Linked DNA regions of Homo sapiens: all the other regions are linked to region 3. Evidence: promoter capture Hi-C in 16 types of primary human blood cells and fetal thymus (Javierre and others, 2016). All regions are on one chromosome and are shown on one strand. Each heading gives the region's core, a stretch centred on a gene start or on the middle of the fragment in contact. The rest is flanking DNA. Distances are from core to core; before and after follow the strand shown. Region 1 holds the start of HINT2 (histidine triad nucleotide binding protein 2). Region 2 holds the start of TLN1 (talin 1). Region 3 holds the start of GALT (galactose-1-phosphate uridylyltransferase).

Region 1 (3,191 bases), core at 189-2,688, 1.2 Mb after region 3:
TACAACATTCCTAAGGGGATAGGTCCTAAGAGCACCCCACCTGCTGGTCCTCATAGAGAATGTCAGCTGGGAGGCTCTTGTCCAGGATCCGGGAGAAGATGGTTGGGGCTGCTCCCCCAGGAGTTGCCTGCTGGGCCTTGGCCACTTCATTCCCATCAGTCACACCTGCAGCTCCTCGGACCTGAAGGTGGATCGACCATATTCAAAGGAGGGAGCTGGCAGAAGCTGGGCTCTGATAGTTGTTAATTTCGTCCTTCTAATAACCTATTCATCGTTCCCACCCAGGAGGAAAGTTCCTGAATTTCAGAGCACCAGCAGCAAAGGGTAGGGCCAGAAGGTGCTGGACCTGGTTAGATAACAGGCGGTATTATTATCAGGATTCAGCAGTGCAATTGATTCCTGCTCATGTGTCCACGAAATATAGCACTGTTTAGGGAAAGGATCTAGAATGAGAGACTGGGGATTTTGGTCTCAGTTCCTACCTTACCATACCACTGAATTACCTCAGATAAATTCCTTCTCTCAGCTTCTAATATAAAATAAAGGGATGGTTTCCATAATCTCTTGCGATGGCTTGAATCTCTTTCCACTCTCACCTTGTTAGTACATTTCCACTTATTTCCGTTACTTGTTTTCTGATCTTTAAGCCTTGTCGCCTGTTTTATTTAAGTTTTAATGCAATCGCCCTGTTTGACACTAGTTGACCCCTCATCTGGGTGTCACATGTGACTCTGTGAATTTTAACTCTTGTCCCTTGAATGAGTGGAGGTAAGAGTTCAGCTAAGTGACCTCTGCTCCCCTAGCCCCAGGGAACTTCGGGTAAGGGATTCAGAGAAGGCTGATGTCATTGCATCACGTTGGGGGAGAACGGGACGGAATGAATTCTCTGACCTCCGAGCCGCTTCTGGCAAGTGCAGAAGAGAGGTTAACACTAGTGCTCATTAGGAGGCCAGAAGCCTGAGGAGGGCAGAGCACTGGCTCCAAGAAGAGAAAGCTCATTTCCTGCAGGGGGCATCGGGCCAGCTGGGCTGCAGGCAGTGGAAAGAAGGCGGCAGCCGCTGCACTGACCCTGTCCCGACCTCGGCGCCCCGGCCTGCGCAGGGCGGGAATCAGCACCAGCTCGTTCTCCGGAGCCACCAGTTCGACCTCACCACACAGCCCCGGAGCTTGTGCCTCGGAGGGGCAGAGGCCACAGGCAGGAGCTCTGCGCGGCTCTGCGCGCCTTCGGGACCCCCTGGCCCCGGATGGCTTCGGAGCCCGCAGGACCCCCTACTCGCTCCCGCGCCACTTCTCACCTGCCCCCCGCGCACCCCCGTGGCCGCCACGGCTCTGCGCGCCGCGCGCAACCCAGCAGCCAGCACCACGGCTGCCGCCATCTTCCCTGAGCCGCGGGAACCTCTCACCCGGGTCAGCACTCGGCTCCGCGGCCGGCCGTGGGTGGGGACTCCGGGCGCGGGGAAGCGGGGTAGTGGCGGCCGGGCGAGCCCTGCTACCCCATTGGAGCGCGCCTCTGAGCACGATTCACCCCATTGCCTCTGCAGCCACTTTGGAGGCGGGCTCTTTTCATCTCATTGGCTGCTTCTACCAACGCGAGGACAATTTTCCATTCCATTGGTTTCGTCTTCTAGTCCGTGTGAACGTTCTTTTCCCATTGGATCCCCTTACTAGTTTCTCTGTGAGAGAAACTTCCACTCCATTGGAAGGATTAATGGAGCCTGGAGGTGGGATTTTCTCCTAGTTGAATCTGATACACAACTCTGGCTTCTAGGTTGCGGCTCCCGAGTGGGTGGTTCTTTTCGTTCTTGGTTCGTCCTCTTCAGGTCTGGTTCCTATTGGTGCGCGGGGAGAAGGGGGCGGGGCTCCGCCACCTGCTGCAGAAAGGGCTGTTTTAGACCCTCTCACCGCTTTGGCCAGGAGGAGGGCGGGGCTCTGAGGGCATCCGGCGCTTATTGGCTCCAAGAACCACCCGGGGTGGGGCTAAAGGTGAACGGGGATGAGGTGTGTTTTTTTGTGTTTGTTTGTTTGTTTTAACTGGCGGGGCTGATGCGCAGCATTTTCTCCACAAGGGCAGTTTCAGTCCCTTGAGCATTTTGGAGATTTTAATGTACTTATCTAAGGGAAATTCTTCCTTAATTCTATGTTCTTGTTAACGCATTCACTCCATAGATTAAAAAGTCTGTGGTTTTTGCATTTTTTTTTTTTGAGCAGGAGGAGATAAGAGTGTCCTATATTTGCCGCACAAGAATTATAATAAGCAAAGGAGTATGTATTCATTGTTCTTTTCTAATCGGAAAAGGTGTGTGATACAGTTAGCTCGGTGCCTGGTGTTTTCTTTTTTTTTCTTTTTTTCTTTTTTCTTTTTTTTTTTTTTTGAGACGGAGTCTCGCTCTGTCGCCCAGGCTGGAGTGCAGTGGCGCGATCTCGGCTCACTGCAAGCTCCGCCTCCCGAGTTCACGCCATTCTCCTGCCTCAGCCTCCCGAGTAGCTGGGACTACAGGCACCCGCCACCACGCCCGGCTAATTTTTTGTATTTTTATTAGAGACGGGGTTTCACCGTGTTAGCCAGGATGGTCTCGATCTCCTGACCTCGTGATCCTCCTGCCTCGGCCTCCCAAGGTGCTGGGATTACAGGTATGAGGCACCAATAAGTCAGGTTTGCACTGCTGGAATATATATTTTTGACATAAGAAACGTGGGGTCACAAAATACTAATATTCTCAGACGCTAGGTAAGTTTTAGTCTGATATCACATAGGACAAGTTACCACTGTTTCTTTGGTTTTTCTTTTTTTCTTTTTTTTTTTTTTAAACACATGACCTGATACATATAGGTGGTCAGTAATTGTTGAATGAATAACATTTGGTGTTTCCTGTCTTTTTTTCATAATATGTAATATGTATTGCATATGATACTAACCCATGTGTAATCAATTTTTCATATTTTTACAGTCTACGTAAATATAGTTTGTATTGGCTGCTTATTATTTCCTTCAATGAGTTTATCATAGTAATCCTAACTCTATTGTTGACTATTAGTTGAATTAGTTTTAGGTGAATGGTTATCATGGGGCATATAACCACTGTTGGGGAACTTTGCTTCTAGAGATATAACAATCTCTTTTGTATAGCTATATTATTGTTAGAAAATCCTTTCTCCTCTAAAGGGCAGACATTTGATTCTGTGATTTTCCC
Region 2 (3,211 bases), core at 394-2,893, 1.1 Mb after region 3:
GACTGGGTGAAAATGGTAGGAGAGTAATTTAAAATGATGGGAAAGCTCAGGTTTTGATGAGGGTAAATTCAGGTAGGATGTGCGGATTAAAGGTTGGTGAGGGAGGTAGAACTAAGGATGGGAACGGATGATAAGATGAGCATGGGAGAGTTAAAGGCAAGGGAAGTATTTTGTAAGGGGATAGGCAGGATGGGTGTGAAATGCAGAGTCAGGGATGAGAGTTGGAGAGGAGGGCTTAATACCAAGAGAACAAGTGAAGTGGGAGAAGCAGGGCTAAACTTTCAGGGGATTCAGTTATTCCCTTCTCCCATGGCAACAGTGATTCCTTGGTTAGCTTCCCCCATAGTCATCAGCTCCTTCTTCCCTAGGCAGTCCCCAACTTGTGACTAGGCCTTGTACATCCTGGGTCCCTATTTCCCACCTATGTTGTCTGTAAACAACACAGTCCAGAATCTCTGTCCCCTAACTGTGGTGGCCACAGCAAGGGCCTTGGGCTTAGAGAATGGAATAAAGAAGCTGGAATCCCAGATGCCTGCAATTCTAGCTAAAGCCAGAACGCTAGCCTGAAATTAGTTTATCTCTCTGGGTAAAAAGAAGCCCCTGTAACTACATAGGAATAAAGGATTTCCCTACAAAAGAAGGGCATTTACCTACTGCCAACCTCTTAAATTTTATCTGCTCAAGGTCAACTATGCTAGCCTCAAACCACAACCCCTAAAGCTGCCCCAAATTCCTAACATTAACCCCACCTCTAATTTGTTTCCTGATTCCCAGTACCGGCTTGGACATTCATCCCTTTCCTAGCACAGACTCATATCCAATCCCTGATCCCTGAAACTGATCTAAGTTTTGCCTTTAGCACCAAATCCCCTGATGTTAACCCTAAATGTTGACCCCTAAGCCTAAAGTTCATTTATAATTTGATTCCTAACTCACGCTTTCACTGTTTATCCTTAACACCGACCATGCCAACATTCTTTAATCCCTCAAACAAGCTCTAACCTGATTCCTGTTGTTTGTTGACCCTTAACCTGACCCTGAACTCAAATTATGACGTATGATGGCCATCCCAGCAAACAAGATAATGACCGTAATCTAAACCTTACCTATCTAAAACGGACCTGACTCACACTAACTCTTAAGTTTTAACCCCAGCTTTTAACTCCTATAGCGACCCTTGATTCCTAAACGGACCCCACCTAATCCCCAACTCACCCAAAGCTTTCCTACCCACATGCCCGCTATCAGCTAACACCAAAGCCCGTCCCCGCCCTGCGCCCCGCTGCCACCCGACTCCTCACGCTCCCCAAAGCCTATCCCAGACATAGGACTGCTCCCAGGAAAGGCCTGTCTTCCCCAAGACGGCCTACTTCACGCCGAGCTCAAGCCGAGATGCGCTGGACGCTGACCTCTCCAACTAATAGGACCCGAACCGGACACGCAAGAGAGGCAGGGCCCGCCCGCCCCGGGGCCAGGCCCCGCGGCCCCACCCTAAGGCCCCCGCCCGGCCCGGTCTGGCCTACCTGCGCTGCCTGGCTCTGCGCCCCGCCCGCCGGCCCGCCGCCCCGCCGCTTCTCGGGTCGCCCTCGGGCTCCGGCCTCGCCCTCCCTTCGACACTCTCTCGGCCACTTCCGTCCTGGGAACGTCCCCCACCCGCGGGCGGCGCCCTGGGCCCGCGCTCTATGGTCGCGGGGGGCAGGCAGGAAGCTGCTCTGGCCCCGTTCTCGATGCTCGGGAGCCGCCAAAGCCCGGCAGCCCCTCCCTGGCAGGAAGCGAGGGTGCGGCGCAATCCGGAGAGGACGCCAGGACGACGCCCGAGTTCCCTTTCAGGCTAGAACTCTTCCTTTTTCTAGCTTGGGGTAGAAGGCGGAGCCGGAGCCCCGGAACCCCCGCCCTCGGGGTGCGAGGCGGCAGCAGGGCCGTCCCCTACATTTGCATAGCCCCTGGGACGTGGCGCTGCACCCAAGCCTCTTCTCAGTTGGAGGGAACTCCAAGTCCCACAGTGCCACGGGGTGGGGTGCGTCACTTTCGCTGCGTTGGAGGCTGAGGAGAATTGAGCCTGGGAGGCGGGTCCGGAGAGGGCTATGGAAAGCCGCCGGCGGGGAATCCCGGCCGTAGAGGGACAGTGGATAGGTGCCCGAGGCCTACAGCTGGCCTGGGGCTCGTGTCTGGGCTTCGGACGTTGGGGCCCGGTGGCCCACCCTTTCCGTAGTTGTCCCAAATGGAGCTGGAATTGGATGCTGGTGACCAAGACCTGCTGGCCTTCCTGCTAGAGGAAAGTGGAGATTTGGGGACGGCACCCGATGAGGCCGTGAGGGCCCCACTGGACTGGGCGCTGCCGCTTTCTGAGGTAGGTTGGGGTTCTGACTGGGGAAAGCGTGGGATGTCCATGAAGTCAGGTGATGGTGATAAGGTCAAGGCCTGTTCATTGGAACCCTGCGCAGGTACCGAGCGACTGGGAAGTAGATGATTTGCTGTGCTCCCTGCTGAGTCCCCCAGCGTCGTTGAACATTCTCAGCTCCTCCAACCCCTGCCTTGTCCACCATGACCACACCTACTCCCTCCCACGGGAAACTGTCTCTATGGATCTAGGTGAGTCTGAAATAAGTTTGCGGGGAGGACAGGGTTCATGGGCCTGGCTATTCATACTTTCCCTTTTGCAGAGAGTGAGAGCTGTAGAAAAGAGGGGACCCAGATGACTCCACAGCATATGGAGGAGCTGGCAGAGCAGGTACTTGACTTGATTTTCAGGAGATTACTCTCACATTCCCCAGGTGGGGGCAGGATTCCCCATTCCTCTCTGACATCCCCATGCAACTGCCGTCCACTTTCTTGTTACCCTAGGAGATTGCTAGGCTAGTACTGACAGATGAGGAGAAGAGTCTATTGGAGAAGGAGGGGCTTATTCTGCCTGAGACACTTCCTCTCACTAAGGTAAGACTCTCATTGGTTGAACAAAGGCTGAAAAGGGATTAAAAGTCCCAAGTAGGCAAATTCTGTTAACTTTATATCAATAACTTTAAAAAAGGATTGAGGTGAGAAACTTAGTAGATTTATTGCTAATAGGAAGTTGAGGCAGGTACACAATATGCCAGATGCAAGGGCAGATCCTCGTTTTTGTTGGGCTTATACAAATTTTGGTGTTCTGTTAAAAAAATAACTCAAAATTATCAGTGCAACATTAGTATTGGGCCTTGGAAAGGACTGTGTA
Region 3 (2,906 bases), core at 407-2,906:
ACTGCACTCCAGCCTGGGTGGCAGAGTGAGACTCTCTCTCAAACAAACAAACAAACAAAAGTACCAGGGGAGGAATTAATTTGAATTTTATCCTAGTGTTAGCCAATTGGTCCCATCCAAGGAAAATTTAGAAAAGGGAAGGGGATGTGTAAAGGAAACACTAGGCCCCACCTAGATGGTGGCTGGAGCTTCTGATAGTCCTGTACTCTCCACATTTTTAGACTTTCTTGTACTTTTTTTTTTTTTTTTGTGACGGAGTCTGCTCTGTCGCCAGGCTAGAGTGCATGGGCACAATCTCGGCTCACTGCAACCTCTGCCTCCTGGGTTCAAGTGATTCTCCTGCCTCAGCCTCCCGAGTAGGTGGGACTACAGGTGCACGCCACCAAGACCAGCTAATTTTTTTTTTTTTTTTTTTTACTAGAGACGGGGTTTCACCATGTTGGCCAGGATGGTCTCAATTTCTTGACCTTGTGATCCGCCTGCCTTGGTCTCCCAAAGTGTTGGGATTACAGGCGTGAGCCACCGAGCCCGGCCATTTTTAGATTTTTTTTTATAGCCCTTTTACCCCTCCCACTTCTTGTGCTGTCTTGGTGTGTGTATGAAAAAGAGAGAGAGAGAGAGAGGAAGGAGAGCAAGAGTGAGAGAAAAAGAGAATATGGTTACTTAGCCCTTTTTCCCAAATCTGTTTTTGCTTTTGGGGATAGGATATGGTTATGGTGAAGTACTCCACACAGACCCCACCAAGTTTGCCTCTCCTGCGCTACAGCCACTGAGCAGGTGACTGAGGCGCTGTTGATCCAGGGTCATATCCTTACTCGCCCTAGAATGTAAGCTCAGGCAGGGCAGAGGCCATGCCTGACATGTGCATCCCAATGCTTTACACAGCCTAGGTGCCTAGCACATGCTAGATGCTTGGTAAATATTTGCTGAATGAAAGATCAAATGAATGATTGCAGCAAGCAAGTCCTGTAGGCATCCTGGAGCCCAAGGATTCTGCAGTAGGCAGCTTTCACAGAGGTTCTTCCAGTGTAGTGGCTCTAGCTCTGGGTGAAGTAGGATCATCAATGTCGGCCCCCAGGGTTCACAGCTGTTCTGAGCCCCGCCCCCAGGTGGCAGGGCAGCCCAGTCAGTCAGTCACGTGCTGGCGGCTGGCCAATCATCGGGGGCGGCGCGGGGAGGGGTGGTGTGGACGGAGAAAGTGAAAGGTGAGGCACGGCCCTGCAGATTTTCCAGCGGATCCCCCGGTGGCCTCATGTCGCGCAGTGGAACCGATCCTCAGCAACGCCAGCAGGCGTCAGAGGCGGACGCCGCAGCAGCAACCTTCCGGGCAAACGGTAACTGCACCGCGGCAGGGACTCGCTGGGGCGCGGAGCCGAGCCCTCCCCTTCCTTAGGAAGCTTTCGTCCCCTCCGAAGGTTGGAACGCTCATCCCGAGCCAGACCGACAAGGCGTACAGTCTGCAGGCCTGTACGAGCAGCAGGCCAATTGGCGCTGGGAAAGTCCAATCCTGGGCCTCTAGCTCCTGAGCGGGACAGGGCCGAGAGGGCGCTCCCGAGCTTGGGCCTGCTGGTGGGTGAGACCCAGGAGAGAGGGAGCTAGAGAGCTCTGAGGACTGATCTTGACTGTCTGCCCCCAGACCATCAGCATATCCGCTACAACCCGCTGCAGGATGAGTGGGTGCTGGTGTCAGCTCACCGCATGAAGCGGCCCTGGCAGGGTCAAGTGGAGCCCCAGCTTCTGAAGACAGTGCCCCGCCATGACCCTCTCAACCCTCTGTGTCCTGGGGCCATCCGAGCCAACGGAGAGGTAAGCCTGTAGAGCCCTGCATCTGCAGGCTGGGCCACGGGGAGTAGTTCCCTCTTAGAACTGTCCTCCACCCACAGGGATAGTGAACCTCCTTCTGGGTCATATCCCACCAAGCTTTTTGGTCCCCTAGGGTGGGCCTTCCCTACTCCCTTGTAGCCTGTCCAGTCTTTGAAGCCCACCAGGTAACTGGTGGTATGGGGCAGTGAGTGCTTCTAGCCTATCCTTGTCGGTAGGTGAATCCCCAGTACGATAGCACCTTCCTGTTTGACAACGACTTCCCAGCTCTGCAGCCTGATGCCCCCAGTCCAGGTAACCTGGCTCCAACTGCTGCTGGGGAGGAGGGTGGCTAGACCTCTTGAGGGACTTCTGCTGCAGAGAGTGATACTCCTTTACCTCAGGACCCAGTGATCATCCCCTTTTCCAAGCAAAGTCTGCTCGAGGAGTCTGGTAACTATGGATTTCCCCTCTTACAACTTTCAAACCAGAGTTGGAGACTCAGCATTGGGGTTCGGCCCTGCCCGTAGCACAGCCAAGCCCTACCTCTCGGTTATCTTTTCTCCCGTCACCACCCAGTAAGGTCATGTGCTTCCACCCCTGGTCGGATGTAACGCTGCCACTCATGTCGGTCCCTGAGATCCGGGCTGTTGTTGATGCATGGGCCTCAGTCACAGAGGAGCTGGGTGCCCAGTACCCTTGGGTGCAGGTTTGTGAGGTCGCCCCTTCCCCTGGATGGGCAGGGAGGGGGTGATGAAGCTTTGGTTCTGGGGAGTAACATTTCTGTTTCCACAGGGTGTGGTCAGGAGGGAGTTGACTTGGTGTCTTTTGGCTAACAGAGCTCCGTATCCCTATCTGATAGATCTTTGAAAACAAAGGTGCCATGATGGGCTGTTCTAACCCCCACCCCCACTGCCAGGTAAGGGTGTCAGGGGCTCCAGTGGGTTTCTTGGCTGAGTCTGAGCCAGCACTGTGGACATGGGAACAGGATTAATGGATGGGACAGAGGAAATATGCCAATGATGTGGAGGCTTGGAGGTAAAGGACCTGCCTGTTCTTCTCTGCTTTTGCCCCTTGACAGGTATGGGCCAGCAGTTTCCTGCCAG

The links. The method cuts DNA at HindIII sites, captures the fragments that hold promoters and counts their contacts. A CHiCAGO score of 5 or more calls a contact.
Region 1: a contact is called between the fragment with the promoter of HINT2 here and a fragment that was not itself captured in region 3, in 1 of 17 cell types (erythroblasts). The highest score is 5.9, in erythroblasts.
Region 2: the fragment with the promoter of TLN1 here is called in contact with a fragment that was not itself captured in region 3 in 1 of 17 cell types (erythroblasts); the score reaches 6.0 in erythroblasts.

What each region holds. Positions count from the first base shown.
Region 1 is chr9:35,813,604-35,816,794 of GRCh38, forward strand. It overlaps HINT2 (histidine triad nucleotide binding protein 2), which reads right to left and starts at 1,439. Exons shown (of 5, transcript NM_032593.3): 1 at 1,296-1,439; 2 at 41-181. The coding sequence starts at 1,376. FAM221B (family with sequence similarity 221 member B) reads right to left here. Exons shown (of 7, transcript NM_001012446.4): 7 at 2,788-3,191. RefSeq lists silencers at 1,252-1,571, 1,902-2,081 and an enhancer at 1,632-1,811. The HindIII fragment of the contact is 5,278 bases long and covers 1-3,191 here.
Region 2 is chr9:35,730,552-35,733,762 of GRCh38, forward strand. It overlaps TLN1 (talin 1), which reads right to left and starts at 1,644. Exons shown (of 57, transcript NM_006289.4): 1 at 1,524-1,644. CREB3 (cAMP responsive element binding protein 3) reads left to right here and starts at 2,115. Exons shown (of 9, transcript NM_006368.5): 1 at 2,115-2,350; 2 at 2,445-2,592; 3 at 2,664-2,731; 4 at 2,845-2,934. The coding sequence starts at 2,222. It overlaps MIR6853 (microRNA 6853), which reads left to right and starts at 2,371; the gene lies at 2,371-2,444. RefSeq lists enhancers at 1,201-1,250, 2,051-2,100, 2,151-2,240 and silencers at 1,431-1,720, 1,761-1,920. The HindIII fragment of the contact is 10,307 bases long and covers 1,220-3,211 here.
Region 3 is chr9:34,645,453-34,648,358 of GRCh38, forward strand. It overlaps GALT (galactose-1-phosphate uridylyltransferase), which reads left to right and starts at 1,223. Exons shown (of 11, transcript NM_000155.4): 1 at 1,223-1,334; 2 at 1,637-1,806; 3 at 2,040-2,115; 4 at 2,205-2,253; 5 at 2,380-2,509; 6 at 2,663-2,719; 7 at 2,882-2,906. The coding sequence starts at 1,253. RefSeq lists enhancers at 968-1,077, 1,648-1,827. The HindIII fragment of the contact is 523 bases long and covers 1,396-1,918 here.